Linked DNA regions of Homo sapiens: region 1 is linked to region 2. The links are contacts of gene promoters, found by promoter capture Hi-C in blood cells and fetal thymus (Javierre and others, 2016). All regions are on one chromosome and are shown on one strand. Each heading gives the region's core, a stretch centred on a gene start or on the middle of the fragment in contact. The rest is flanking DNA. Distances are from core to core; before and after follow the strand shown. Region 1 overlaps ZFAND1 (zinc finger AN1-type containing 1). Region 2 holds the start of PLAG1 (PLAG1 zinc finger).

Region 1 (6,648 bases), core at 155-2,654, about 26 Mb before region 2:
CTGGGACTGTTGTCTTTTGGCTTTGCCACTGCGACCTACGGCCAGCTACTTTCCCATACTTTTTTTTACTTATCTGTTACGTAGCTGTCAGGAGGAGTTGGGGGAGGTCAACTCGCCCAACTAGTGTTCACGTGGATGTGTGTCCGGAAGAAGGCCCTTCCTTAGCTTTTATCAAATTCTCAAAGGCATCCTGATCCTCAGATTATTCCACCAAATGGTCATCATGCTCTCCCAGCTCTGTCATTCCCTGATTCTCATTATTATTGTTTGAACAAACATTTACAGATTATTGATTTTGGTGCTTGGACCACATAAGGGTGTAAACTACAGTCTTTTACACGGAAGACCTTTCCAACTAGTAAGCTGCATTTTAGAGAGAATTAGTTAATAATATGGCAATGGGCTCTCCCCATTGCACTGAGAGACCTTGGGATATACCTAGTCCAAGGTGATGTGGCATTGGCTTCAGGATGCCATACACCTTGAAAAGGCAAGTTTTTGAAGCATTAGAACCACACAGACTGCTCAGTCGTTGTTACTAGGTTTCACACACTACATAAGGTAGCAAACAGGTTTAATCTCCCCTTGGAACTTCAGTCATTGGTATCAAGTGCCTGAATTACCGTGTCAAAGACTCTTGAGATTTAGCCCAGTTTCAGTGGAGTTCCATAATTGATTAGTGATTTCTACTGTGGGAATGCGTGATAGGACAGGTGACACAATCCCTTCTAGGTTCTTGTTACTTATAGCCATCTATCTATCTATCTTTCACCACTGGCTGTAATAACAAGCCAGTGTGACTTTTTTCATGTGGAAGCTTAGCCATTTGGGTTTTGACTGTGAATTATGTGTGTCTATGCCTGATCCTTCGCTAGTGAGTCCAATACACATTATATGCCATTCATGACATAGTTCATTTTCCTTTCCAGCTATATATGTCTTTAGTGTCAATAACTGAGATGAGGCCAGGCCTATCTGTTTGGGACTAGTGGAAAGCAGTTAAGATTTAGACTACGTCAAGTGTATATCCTAAATTTTATCTACCTTCTGGAGGGATTGAAGGATGGTATCAGGTGCTGGGAAGTTGTCTTGACTTAACTCTTTCCCCTGGGTCCTTCTGGTTTGCATCTAATACTTGATTATTAAAAGTCGCAAAATATTAAGCATCTCCACCCAGTCACTGCAGTATTGTCCTTTTTTGTTTGTTTGTTTGTTTTGTTTTGAGATGGAGTCTGGCTCTGTCACCCAGGATGGAGTGCAGTGGCGCGATCTCGGCCCTCTGCAACCTCTGCCTCCTGAATTCAAGCGATTCTCCTGCCTCAGCCTCTTGAGTAGCTGGAATTACAGGCATGAACCACCACGCCCAGCTAATTTGTGTGTGTGTGTGTGTGTGTGTGTGTGTGTGTGTGTGTGTGTGTTTTCAGTAGAGATGGGGTTTCGCCATGTTGGCCAGGCTGTTTTCAAACTCTTGACCTCAGGTGATCCGCCCCCCTCGGCCTCCCAAAGTGCTGGGATTACAGGCTTAAGCCACTGTGCCTGGCCCCTTGCAGTACTGTTCTGAGTTGAGTATACTCAAAAGAAGTTAATTGTTGTATTATTCTTATTAATTATAGTTACTGTATTACTATTCTGATCTTTCATATATATCTCATTTGGTTTCTGTAAGTACACTGTGAGGTCGGTGTGGCATACAGCATAGATACAGATATAGATACACATGCATACACACATATACATATATACACAGAAAGGATGTGCTTGTATCTTTATATCTGTCTCTGTATCTACCTGTCTATATCTTTCTATTTTTCTTACCCAATAAAAGAGCTTTGGTTTTGTATATGTTTATTTACATACATATATAGAAACACACACACATATACTTTATACTAACTGTACTATATATTACATCAAATTATATATATTTGAAATACCATAAATCTTATAGGTGTATATATAAATATAAATATATTTGAATATAGTCAAGCTTTGGCGATATATATATATATATGTTGTTCACACACATATATATTAGTACACAGATATAAATATATATATTTATTGGATATATATAAAAATATATATATCCAAAGTTTTACTGTTAAGTAACTTGCCTAGCACTGTTAGATTAGTAAGCAGTGGAATCAGAATTGAATCCCAGGTTTTTCACTCCAAATGCGGAATTTTTGCAGTATACAGTCATCAAAAACAACACCTAGTAAATCTGGGAAACAAAACAAAAAAGAAAAAGAAAACCACTAGAACTTATTTTTGTCTGACTTAGTAAAGTTACAAGTAACATCTATTAATACCTTATGTTAATCCAATTACTTTCTGTCAGTTATTGAAGTTGTGATTAATTTTGTTAGAGTGGTTACATAGTGCTTGCTACACTAGGATATTAGTCAAAATGGGAAGTTTTTCCATAGAGGTTGTCTTCTTGCTTAAGAAAACTAAATCAAAATCAGATACTGACCAGTATATACATTTTCTCTCAATTTTAGATTTTCTTCCATTTGTGTGTGATGATTGTTCAGGAATATTTTGGTAAGTTAAGTTTTTATGCAGGATTTGGGAGTAATTTTAGTGTTTATTAATATGAGGTTATTTCTGAAAAGTAGAATGATTTAAAATAATTGTTACTTTAGCCATTGATTATTGATATTCAGTATAGTTATAGACTCTGATTACTTCTCCATATATATGACTGATTTTTAAACTTCCAAAAGTGGGGTTATGTATGTGAATTTTATATAAAAGTTATATTTTTGTCTTTTAATTACAAGGAGAAAATAATATTCACAATATAAAGAATATGGTAAAGATCCAGTTATAATTATTGCTCTTTATTTTAATTAATAAAATGAAAAGAGCCCAACCTATAAATGCCTTAAAATAGGAATCACAGCATTTGACTACATTACATGCCAAGTAAAACCTGGGAATTAATGAAGAATTTTGGAAAATGGATTTTCCTTACAGTTAAACTTTAAAATGTCAAGCATTTAAATTATAAAATAGAGCACTGAAAGAATGAATTTTTTTCAGAATGTAATTCAGAATGATTTGTTGGAAGTAAATAAAAGTAATGTATATTTTTAAATTATTTGGAATTAGAGCACTTTTCACATTTTACTACTGATGATCTTTTAGAAATAAAAAGAGCTGAAAGATATGTTTATATTTTCATGCAACGTAAACGTAATTTAGGGTGGTGAATTGTTTTTACTCATATTGAAGTTGAACATTTGTGTTTTAAAACTTTTGAGACTATAGATGCTCCATCTTTATCTGACATTTCAGTTTTTTCTCATATTCAAAGTTATTAATGTAGTATGAGCATAATGTATCTTAAGTATACTGAACATTAAAATATCGCAAATTTCTGCAGTTATCTTTAAGTATGTTATTTAAATAAACACTTGCTATTATTATTTAAGCCTTGAACACAGAAGCAGGGAGTCTCATGGTTGTCCTGAGGTATGTTAGTATTTTTCCAATCTGATAAAATGTATTCGTATTTATGTACTTTCATTCAGAATTTGATTAGATTTAAAGGCAGTCAGTATCACAGATTAAAGTTTGGCATACTAAACTGATTAGGTAAAGAGGCTTTTGCTTCATTTATATTATTTTTCTTTGTTTGAAAGAAAAATTGTTTTACTTGGTATTTGTAAATTTTTATCCTCATAATTTTTATTCCTTAACATTTGTTTAGGTAGCCCACTTACAGTATAAGGCTATATATTTATTTATTTGTTTGTTTTGTTTTGTTTTGTTTGAGATGGAGTTTTGCTCTTGTTGCCCAGGCTGGAGTGCAGTGGTACGATCTCGGCTCACTGCAACCTCCGCCTCCGGGGTTCAAGTGATTCTCCTGGCTCAGCCTCCCGAATAGCTGGGATTATAGGCACGTGCCACCACGCCCGACTAATTTTTGTATTTTAGTAGAGATGGGGTTTTACCATGTTGGCCAGGCTGGTCTCAAACTCCTGACCTCAGGTGATCCACCCGCCTTGGCCTCCAAAGTGTTGGGGTTACAGGTGTTAGCCACCGCGCCCAGCCAAGGCTATATATTTATAAATATACACGTAAGTTAATGTCCTCCTTATATATTCCCTCCAGTTCACTGTGTCCTTCACTGTTGTGTTCATTTTCACTGATGCCTGCTGATAGGATCTGTGGTAGTAAATCATTCTGGCTCAGTCGACTTAAGACAACCAGGAAGAAACCTATAGTTTAATAAAATTCCTACCCTAATTTTGCACAAATCATAAGTTAAGAAAGGTCTGGCAAATAGAAGTCAAAATATTACCCTTATTACTGGTAAAGATAAGTTGAATGATGAAGTTCAGCATAGAGCAAATGGGTTTGCAAAGAATATCCAGAATTAGGCAGACTTGCCCAGCAGTCACAGCAGTACTGGACCAGGTTAGGCTTTCTCCCTGAAGGCAGTACAGTTCCAAGAGGAAGAGAGAAAGCTAAGCCCACCATGTTCAATGTGTTCTAACACTTTTCAGTGGACATTTATTCCTGCCCACCATTTACCAAGTGCTTTACCAAATATTTTCACATCTGTTCTCTCAGTTATAGAAAGTTATTAAAGTTACATGAGGTTCAGTTGAAATCTGATTCTTTCCAGTTTAAATGATCAGTCAAAATCTGACCCTTTGAAGTTTACGTGATCTATTTGAGGAAAATTTGAATTACCTAGCATGTTGATTTTATGCAGCATTAATTGGAGGAAATATTCAGTCATACAATAAAACTTACTGAAGTTTCTTGCAGTTTATAAATCTATCCTGTGTTTTCTTTTTTCTTAGGATATAATTTGATTCCTCTGAATGTGTCTCAGATAATTAGGTCTCGTTAATTAAATATTGAAACATCATTAGGCCATTGCAACAAGTTCAAAAAGATACTTAAATTAATTCCAACAAGGTGTAACTATTATTTATAAAAAGGAATTCCCTTTGGTTGTAGTTTTCAAGCAATTATTTCCCTACGTTTACTCGTCTTTAGAAACCTGGTTTGTTAATGCTCAGAATAGCCTGGCTGATTTAGAATTTTTTTTTTTTTTTAGTCTTATAAAATCTTTCTTCCTGTAGTGGAGTATTTGCTGGTAATAAAAATATGAAATAGGGCATAGAGAATAATATATGATTATGAAAACCGTCTTTAACCTTTTATCTCACAAATAAATAAATATTTTTTAAGTGTTTTATTCTCTGAGTTAAGTGTTTCATCTCCTAAAATTAGTGTGGAAATTAGGTTGACTTGCCATTTGAGGGTTGATGAGATAATTACCTGAGCATATCATAGGGGCACCTTTGTATGAGACTGTTACAAAGCAGGTTAAAATTATAGAGCGTAATTAAATAGTCATTTCAACTTGACTTAGAAGACAAATATACCACAGTAGGAAAATTATGAAAGTGTGGAACAGTCAGTATAGTAATCATTTGTCACATAAAACATTCTTTATAATCTTTGAGAGTAAGTAACTTGCTCTAATAAGTTTAAGCAAAAATAAAATGAATACTGCCTTCTAGAATAAGACACATTGATTTGTTTTAGGTCTGAAATGTAATACATTTCCTCCTTTTTGCATTTTCAGGTGACTGTAATCAATGAGAGACTGAAGACAGATCAACATACATCTTACCCATGCTCTTTCAAAGACTGTGCTGAGAGAGAACTTGTGGCAGTTATATGTCCTTATTGTGAGAAGAATTTTTGCCTGAGGTGATTGATCACTTAGGCTGTTCACACTTTGTATATCTGTTTAAGTGCTATACAAACACATGAACTAGTGTCACTCTTCTGTTGCTCATAGACACCGTCATCAGTCAGATCATGAGTGTGAAAAACTGGAAATCCCAAAGCCTCGAATGGCTGCCACTCAGAAACTTGTTAAAGACATTATTGGTAAGTATCTAGAAAGCGTGTTTTGTTGCTTTCCTAGTTCCAGAGCTCCTGCTTCTTATATCTACTTTCCAATTATGGGAGGCATCATTAATAACCCCAGTGGTATTCGTATTAACTTGTATTTTGATGATATTCTTGTGACAGTATTTCTTATGAGGTCTACCTGACCGATGGAAATTTGGAAATTATTTGGAGGTACTCCACTGTAAGTACTTATCTCTTTTGCTGAGCCACTTAGATTAGCTAGTTAACCATTGGGCTAGAAATGGTATTCATGAGATTGAAGTAGTCAGCTGCTTTCTCTACAGATTAAACTCTAAGCCTAGTCAGCTGTTCTGTGAATGCTGCTGATAATAAGAGATACCAGGAATGAATGTATCTGTGACTTAAATCAGTCTGCCTGCCAGTATGTTAGCTCAGAATTTTTATTCCATATTAAGGATAGTACCTTTATTACAATCTTGCATAACCAAATCTTAAGGTTGTCTGTAGAAGCATTAATGACTGCTTTAGGTTAAATAGGCTTAAGTTGAAAAGAAGCACATTATAGTGGATTTTTTGATGTGGAGATTGCCTAGATCAATCTCAATGATATTTTTCCATTGACAATGTAAATACAATACCTATACAATGAATGTGGTCTCTGTATATCTCTCTTGTGTGTAATTTATATATGTTTCTGAGCCATAATTAATAAGTGTATTATAATAAAATTCTATTTGT
Region 2 (6,565 bases), core at 1,896-4,395:
CCATGCCTCAACACAAAGGCCATATATTGGATTGAAATGCATCTACTGGCTGGGTGCGGTGTCTCACGCCTGTAATCCCAGCACTTTGGGAGGCTGGAGCGAGAGGGCTGCTTAAGCTCAGCAGTTCGAGATCAACCTAGGCGACACAGAGAAACCCCATTTCTACCAAAAATACAAAAATTAGCCTGGTGTCGTGCCGTGTGCCTGTGGTCCCAGCTACTTGGAAGGCTAAGTAAGGTGGGATAGCCCAGGAAGTCAAGGCTGCAGAGAGCTGTGATTGCACCAGTGCACTCCAGCCTGGGTGACAGAGAGAGACCCTGTCTCAAAAAAACGAAAAAGAAAGATAGTTCAATTATAATTCAGTTGTTGTTTACTCTTATTCTTAAGTTTAAGCAACCAAATGTACTAATAAAACCTAAGAATACAGTATGCATTCCAACAATTACTTCCTTATTTTACACCAATTAGCGTACAAAATAAGAATGAAATTCGGTACAGTCCAACTTTAGCAAAAACATTCATCAACTGAAGTACCAGAGTGCCTATTTTATGGCCAATAGTAGGGTAGCCAACACACCAAAAAGCCAAGTTATTGCTTAGTTGACATTATGAAAAGCTATACTGTTTCAAAAACAAAAGAGTTGAAATTTTACTTCCAGTGGCATCTTCTTTTTAACTATTTCCCTGCGTTGCAGGAAGTCAGGGAATGCTACTGTGCTTCAGTAATCTTCCAATTCAATTCCTAGAGATACAGCTTTGCAAAAGTTTAGGAGGCCGAGTCGGGCGGATCACGAGGTCAGGAGTTCAAGACCAGCCTGGCCAACATGGTGAAACCCCCTGTCTACTAAAAATACAAAAATTAGCTGAGCGTGGTGGCACGCGCCTGTAATCCCAACTACTCAGGAGGCTGAGGCAAGAGAATCGCCTGAACTTGGGAAGCAGAGGTTGCAGTGAGCCGAGATCGCGCCACTGCACTCCAGCCCAAGCGACAGCAGTGGAAGACGCCGTCTCAAAAAAAAAAAAAAGAGACACCCAGCCCAGTTCTACTATGGGAAAGATCAGGACGTCCAGGCCAAAGGAGACCAGCCTTTGCAAAAAAAAGAATGGAAAAGGGTTTGGTTATTCTGGTGTCCATTAAGTAATCACTGAATAATAATTTTATGATTTTCATTGAACAATACAAGAAAATAACCAGCCAACAGTAACATCTTGGCAAAAAAGAAATCAAGATGCTGTTCAATTATATCTACAAGCTTCTTCCTCTCCTGAAGACAATTTTTTTCCACACTTCCCTTCTTCCTAAGAGAGATGATGATAGTAAATAAATTCACAGCTTTCTTTTTTACACCTATCCTATGATGTGAGAACACAGAACTCTTCATACACCTTAGATTTAATAATCTCAACAAGGATCAGACAACCTTGCATTAAATTTAAGTTTCGTGCCTTACATGAAAGTATCCTACTCTATATTTTATTGTCAGTCAGAAATTCTTCAAAAATAATACCTAGGTAACATCACATATACCCAGTTCGAGTTTGGTGCATGAGTTTCTTCACATTTCATTTCCTTTTCCTTCCGGATTCTAAATACAAGGCACTCTAAGTTTGGATTTCCGAAAGTCCCCTCCTTTGCATGAGTTCCTCGTGTATTAACTGGAATTGAAGAGGAAATGTCAATTTACAGTGAGGAGCGGGGCTGAATTACAACATCGAGTGCTCCGCTAAAGGGGCCTTGTCTATTACTTTTTGAATGTACTAAATAAATGTTACAAGGCTCTACTACTTGCAGAGCATAACCAGAAAGAAAAACCAAGCAAAGATATGAAGGAGGGGCCACAAAACCATAGCACATTCAGGGGATAACTCTAAAATCCACTCCAAAGGGCAAACTGCTTAATAAAGCAGTTCCTGATTTCCCATCCAGTGGTTCACGTCCCCCCTCTCTAAGTAGCTTTGAAAGGGCAGGGGGAAGGAAACGTTTCTGAACACGTTCATGCCCACACGCCCCGTGGTCGGAGCCCAGGCAGGGTCCGCGGCTCTGCTAAACCCGGAAGCTGCACACGCCGTGCCGTTAACCCACTGCCAGGTGCAAAGTGGAAGGGGGCAAGAAGTCAAGGGTGGCCTGCCGGAGGTGGGCGCGCAGGGCAAGGAGAAACGAAGGGCGAACCCGAGGCCTCGCCGCCTTCCGCGGTGTAGCCCGTCAGCATCTGATCCTGGACGGCGCGCACAGGTGAACACACCTTGCTGTGCCGAGACCATGCCGAGAGAGACAAGGGGCGAGGAAAACGCAGGGAACTGGGGGTGGGGCCGGTAACTGCGCTTCAGAGGCTACACAGGAGAGTGGAAGAAGAGCTGGGGTTGCCCGGACTAGGCAGAGGTCATCTTCCTCGCCCCCGGAGCGAACAGACCCGTGTGGCGGGAGGAAGAGCAACGGGAAGAGGTCCGCGCTGCGGCGAAGCCTGGCGGGAGCGCCTCCGCGCCGCAGAAGTGCATTCGGGCCCCGCTACGGCCCAAGGGCACCCCTCTCTCCCCGCTTTTCTGCGGCCGCTTCGGAGGTAGGGCGGGGGAACCACTCACCTCCGGCCTCCGCTTCGCCAGCACCCAGGCCGTCTCCAGCTCCAAACACGTCAATGGCTCACGCAGCAGGACCTTAAGTAGCGCGCATCCCAACTTGCTGCCCCCGCTCCCCGGCGGCAGCCCGCCCAATCGGCGCGCGCCGCCGCCAGACTGACAGCCGCGCGGGGCCCTGGGCCGCAGGGGCGGTCGGGCCTCGCCCCGCCCCCGCCTGGCGAAAGGAGGGCCGAGGCGGGAGGAGTGGGCGGGGCGGTGAGCGCGACCCCGCCCCCTCTTCCCCCGCCCCACCGCGCCCCCCAGCCGCGGCCCGTCTCTTAACACTTCGGCTTGACGGGCGGCGTCGCGGCCCAATGGGCGGGCCAACTCCCGCCAGCGGCGGCTCCGAGTGGCCAGCTCTCGGGCGGAGCGCGCGCGGGGGGCGGGCGCAGCGGCGGGCGGGGTTTGGGGGCGGGCCGACGGGAGGCGGGGGCGGTGGCCGAACAGGCAGGGGGAGGCAGCGGTGGGCGCGACGTCGGCGGCGGCGGCGGCGGCGGCGGCGGCAGCTGCAAGTTGGGCTGCAGGGGCAGCGCATACACTACAATGGCTGCTGGAAAGAGGCGTAAGGAAACAATTTCCAGGCCCGCCGCGTCCAGCCCGAAATATGAGAAAAAAATTATTAGAAATTCCGCGGGCGGTGTAGAGGCGGCGGACGGGCCGGAGGGAGGATGTTAAAGCCCCGCGGTGAGTTCTCCGGGGGTCCGGGGCGGCGGCGAGGCGTTTAGCGGGAGAAATATCAGGGTTATTTAAATTATGGGACTAGCCGAGGGGGCAGAGGAGCAGCGGCGGCGGCAGGAGGAGGAAAAGTTTGTGCTACTCTCAGCCCCTGCTCAGGACCCCAGAGAGAAAAATAATAATAAAAAATAAAATAAAATAATTACGCGGGGCTGCGAGGACTCCCGAAGTCGCTTCTGACAGGGCAGGGGGCGATGCGGCTGGGGACCCGAAGGTGAGGTCGGTGGGAAAAAAAAAAAAACCTTTATTCAGGGTCTGGAAAGTTTGAAAAGTTTTCCTCCTCCTCCTCCTCCTCCTCCTCTCTGGTGCTGTGAATATTGTGACAGCGGCAGCGGCAGCAGCGAGAGCGGAAGACATTAGAGACCCGAAAAATAAGGGAAAAATTAATATAAATTCAGTTTTGAGAGTAAACTCTCCGCATTTTCCACCAAAACATCCCGGGGGAAGGTCGCTTCCCAAAGGGCCTGGCGGAAACCCGCAGTCGGCAATATTTGGGGGGCACTTTGAGTGACTTGGGGTAACTTTGCCCCTTTTTCAAAAGAGGTTTTTCTTTTCTGGAGAAATGAATTTGTTTTTGCCCTTTCCTCAGGTGGGCAAGCCGGGGTCGGGGTGCGGGGTCTGCAGGGAGGTGTGAGCCCGGGGTGTGTGGCTGCGAGGGGGGGTAGGGGGAGGGGGTGCTAAATGAAAGCAGGAGATCGGCACAGAGCAGGGACAGCTTGTTGTCAGTATCATAAACAACCAAAATGGAGGGAGAACTCAGGCATATAACCAAATAAAAATTTTTAAAAAATCGCAAAAAATCCCTAAAAATCCGGGATGCTCCCCCTTTTCTCGCTAAAGGTAAAAGTATGTACCGCCTTTCCCCTGAAGTCCATTTTGACTTTGCAGGGACCAAGGAGTTAATATTTATTTATTTTTTAAAACTTTCGAAGGGCAAAAGCCTTTTATAACTCAACCGACAATGAGAAAACGTGAAAATCCGATGCAAGAGAAGCAGGGGGAGCGAGGGGGGAGGTGGTAGTGCAGAAACTGCTAAACTTATTGGTAATGTGGACTGATCTCAGATAAGATAAACACTATATTTGCTATTTTATAACTCTCTTTTAATGATCTTTGCGGGGTTTTTTTGGGTGGAAAAAAAAGTGATGCCATTTTCTTAATAGAGTTAATATGTGTGATTGGAAGAATGAACCTTTCCGGCTTTAGATTGCATTTTCGTCGCATTTATGCTTCAGGTTTTGTTAGTGGCTCCCTCCTTTCTTTAAACTGGGCTCTGCAGAGGAGGGATAGAGAGGTGATGGTGCTCAGAGAGGCTGGAGTGCAAGGCTGGAGTACCTTTTGGGGAGGGATGTGGAGTTGCTTGGTTTCCCCCTTCCTGACATGTTTGCTTCACCTGTTCATCCTTCCTAAAGAATGTTAAGCTGAGGTTTTCTGGTTTTATGTGTATAAAAGGATGATGTCTCTTGCATCACATTGATGTTAATGGGAAAGTGCTGCTGATGTTGGTTCCACGTGGGATATGGGACAGAGCAGGGCATTTTAAAGGGACAGCTTCTCTTTTCTTATGGTTTTCATCACCTACACAGAATCACTGTCTGAGGACCAAAAGCAGAGGTGCTGGGAGGGTGTGGTGATGGAAGAGCCTTCCCTTTCTGTTACTCCAGTGCACCCACCCATAGGAGTGATGGAGGGACAGGAGGGATAAACAGCCTCAACCGAAGATGGATATGTGTATAGTTTGTATCCAAACTGTTCCTTTGTGTAACAAGCCCTCCCAGGAACTTTTCATGTTACATTGCTTTGCTTTGGAAGCTGATTTTGGAAGGAATTGTGGAAAAATGGAAATAGTTTAAGGTGTGTGGTGTAATGGTATAGCATTATTGAACAGTTATGAATTCTGTGCAGTGAGATCAAAGAGCTGTGTATGCCCATAATGTGATTTTACAGCCATTTTGTAAAAACTGTAAAATACCTTAATATTCAATTTGGCTTAAGGTACATTGAGGACTTCTGGTTGAAAATTACAGAGTGGTGAAGATTCTTTAAAATTGTAAGCAGTAGGCATTTCTTTAGGGGGAAGGAAAGCACACACACCAACACCATGGAAAAGTTTACACATCCATTTTTAAAGTCCATCCTATGCATGGGTTGTAACTTTGCGCCTTTGAAATGAAAAGATTTTTAAAATCCTGAGCCCTGTGAGTTTTCATTTTCTAAGTTGAATTTATTTGTGTTATTTAACAGAAAGTGTTTACTGACCATAAACTACTATCGGCTCTTATGTTTTAGATTTCCACGATATTTTCAAAATTTAAAATGTGTAAATTGTTAGCTGTACTATAATGGGGATTAAGGTTAATCTTCAGTAGAAATTACTTGTGTTCCATTTTCCACAGGTATATGGAGTTTCTGAAATAAATCCTTATTTCCTCTTGTTTTTATTATTTATAGACATGGATTAAAATTAGAGCTGAATTTTTAGACTTCTTATATAGAATGTTTTTTCTTGCCCTACTGTATAAACAAGTTATTATTTTTGTAGTCTATTGTATGTTAACTTGTGTTTACAACTGAGTTCTTCCAACTTTCTGTAAATACCTCTATACAACATCACATCAGTAACGTGTTTGAGTACATCATCTTGTGGTTTCTGATTTTGGAAGCAATTACAACTTTCTAAGAACTCATTAAAAGATTAATCTCATCACCCACAGTTAAATCAAAATTGATTGGAAAAGGATTAAGCTATCAATAGAGAAGGGAAACTCCTCCATGCCCAATGATCTTCTGTCCAGAGGTTTCAGAATGCCATTAAGACTTACAAAGCCTTTTCATTTTATCTTACGTTTTCATTGTATTTTGGCTCAAGACAGTTACATTGACTATAAGTAGTCAGAATTATGCTGTGCATTTAAAATAAATGAGACTTAGATCTTGAATAATTGCCACTTTGACAAACCAGATACTAATATCAATAAATTCAATCTCTATAAAAAAATGAAGGAATTCAAGTTATATTAGATTATCGTGTTATTCAGGTTGTTTGGACACTATGACTGGTTTATTGTCAATCTAAATAAAAGTGCTGGTATTGTGATTTTTTTTCTTCCTCTCATATAGGGTGGTGTAAAACTTTCTTCATGTTTGTATTTTATGCAACTAGCTACTTGTCTGTTCAGAAAACGCACTCAGAGTGCACCAATCTAAAATCTGTAAT

What was found. The method cuts DNA at HindIII sites, captures the fragments that hold promoters and counts their contacts. A CHiCAGO score of 5 or more calls a contact.
Region 1: a contact is called between a fragment that was not itself captured here and the fragment with the promoter of PLAG1 in region 2, in 1 of 17 cell types (non-activated CD4 T cells). The highest score is 5.6, in non-activated CD4 T cells.

The regions. Positions count from the first base shown.
Region 1 is chr8:81,714,081-81,720,728 of GRCh38, reverse strand. ZFAND1 (zinc finger AN1-type containing 1) reads left to right here. Exons shown (of 8, transcript NM_024699.3): 2 at 2,505-2,547; 3 at 3,441-3,480; 4 at 5,615-5,742; 5 at 5,834-5,925. Among named protein-coding and RNA genes, the nearest start is that of ZFAND1, 3.9 kb to the left of the region's middle. RefSeq lists an enhancer at 1-395. The HindIII fragment of the contact is 1,170 bases long and covers 820-1,989 here.
Region 2 is chr8:56,207,853-56,214,417 of GRCh38, reverse strand. PLAG1 (PLAG1 zinc finger) reads left to right here and starts at 3,145. Exons shown (of 5, transcript NM_002655.3): 1 at 3,145-3,297. CHCHD7 (coiled-coil-helix-coiled-coil-helix domain containing 7) reads right to left here and starts at 2,629. Exons shown (of 4, transcript NM_001011671.3): 1 at 2,581-2,629. RefSeq lists enhancers at 381-880, 2,451-2,520 and silencers at 2,533-2,758, 2,601-3,160. The HindIII fragment of the contact is 9,849 bases long and covers 1,256-6,565 here.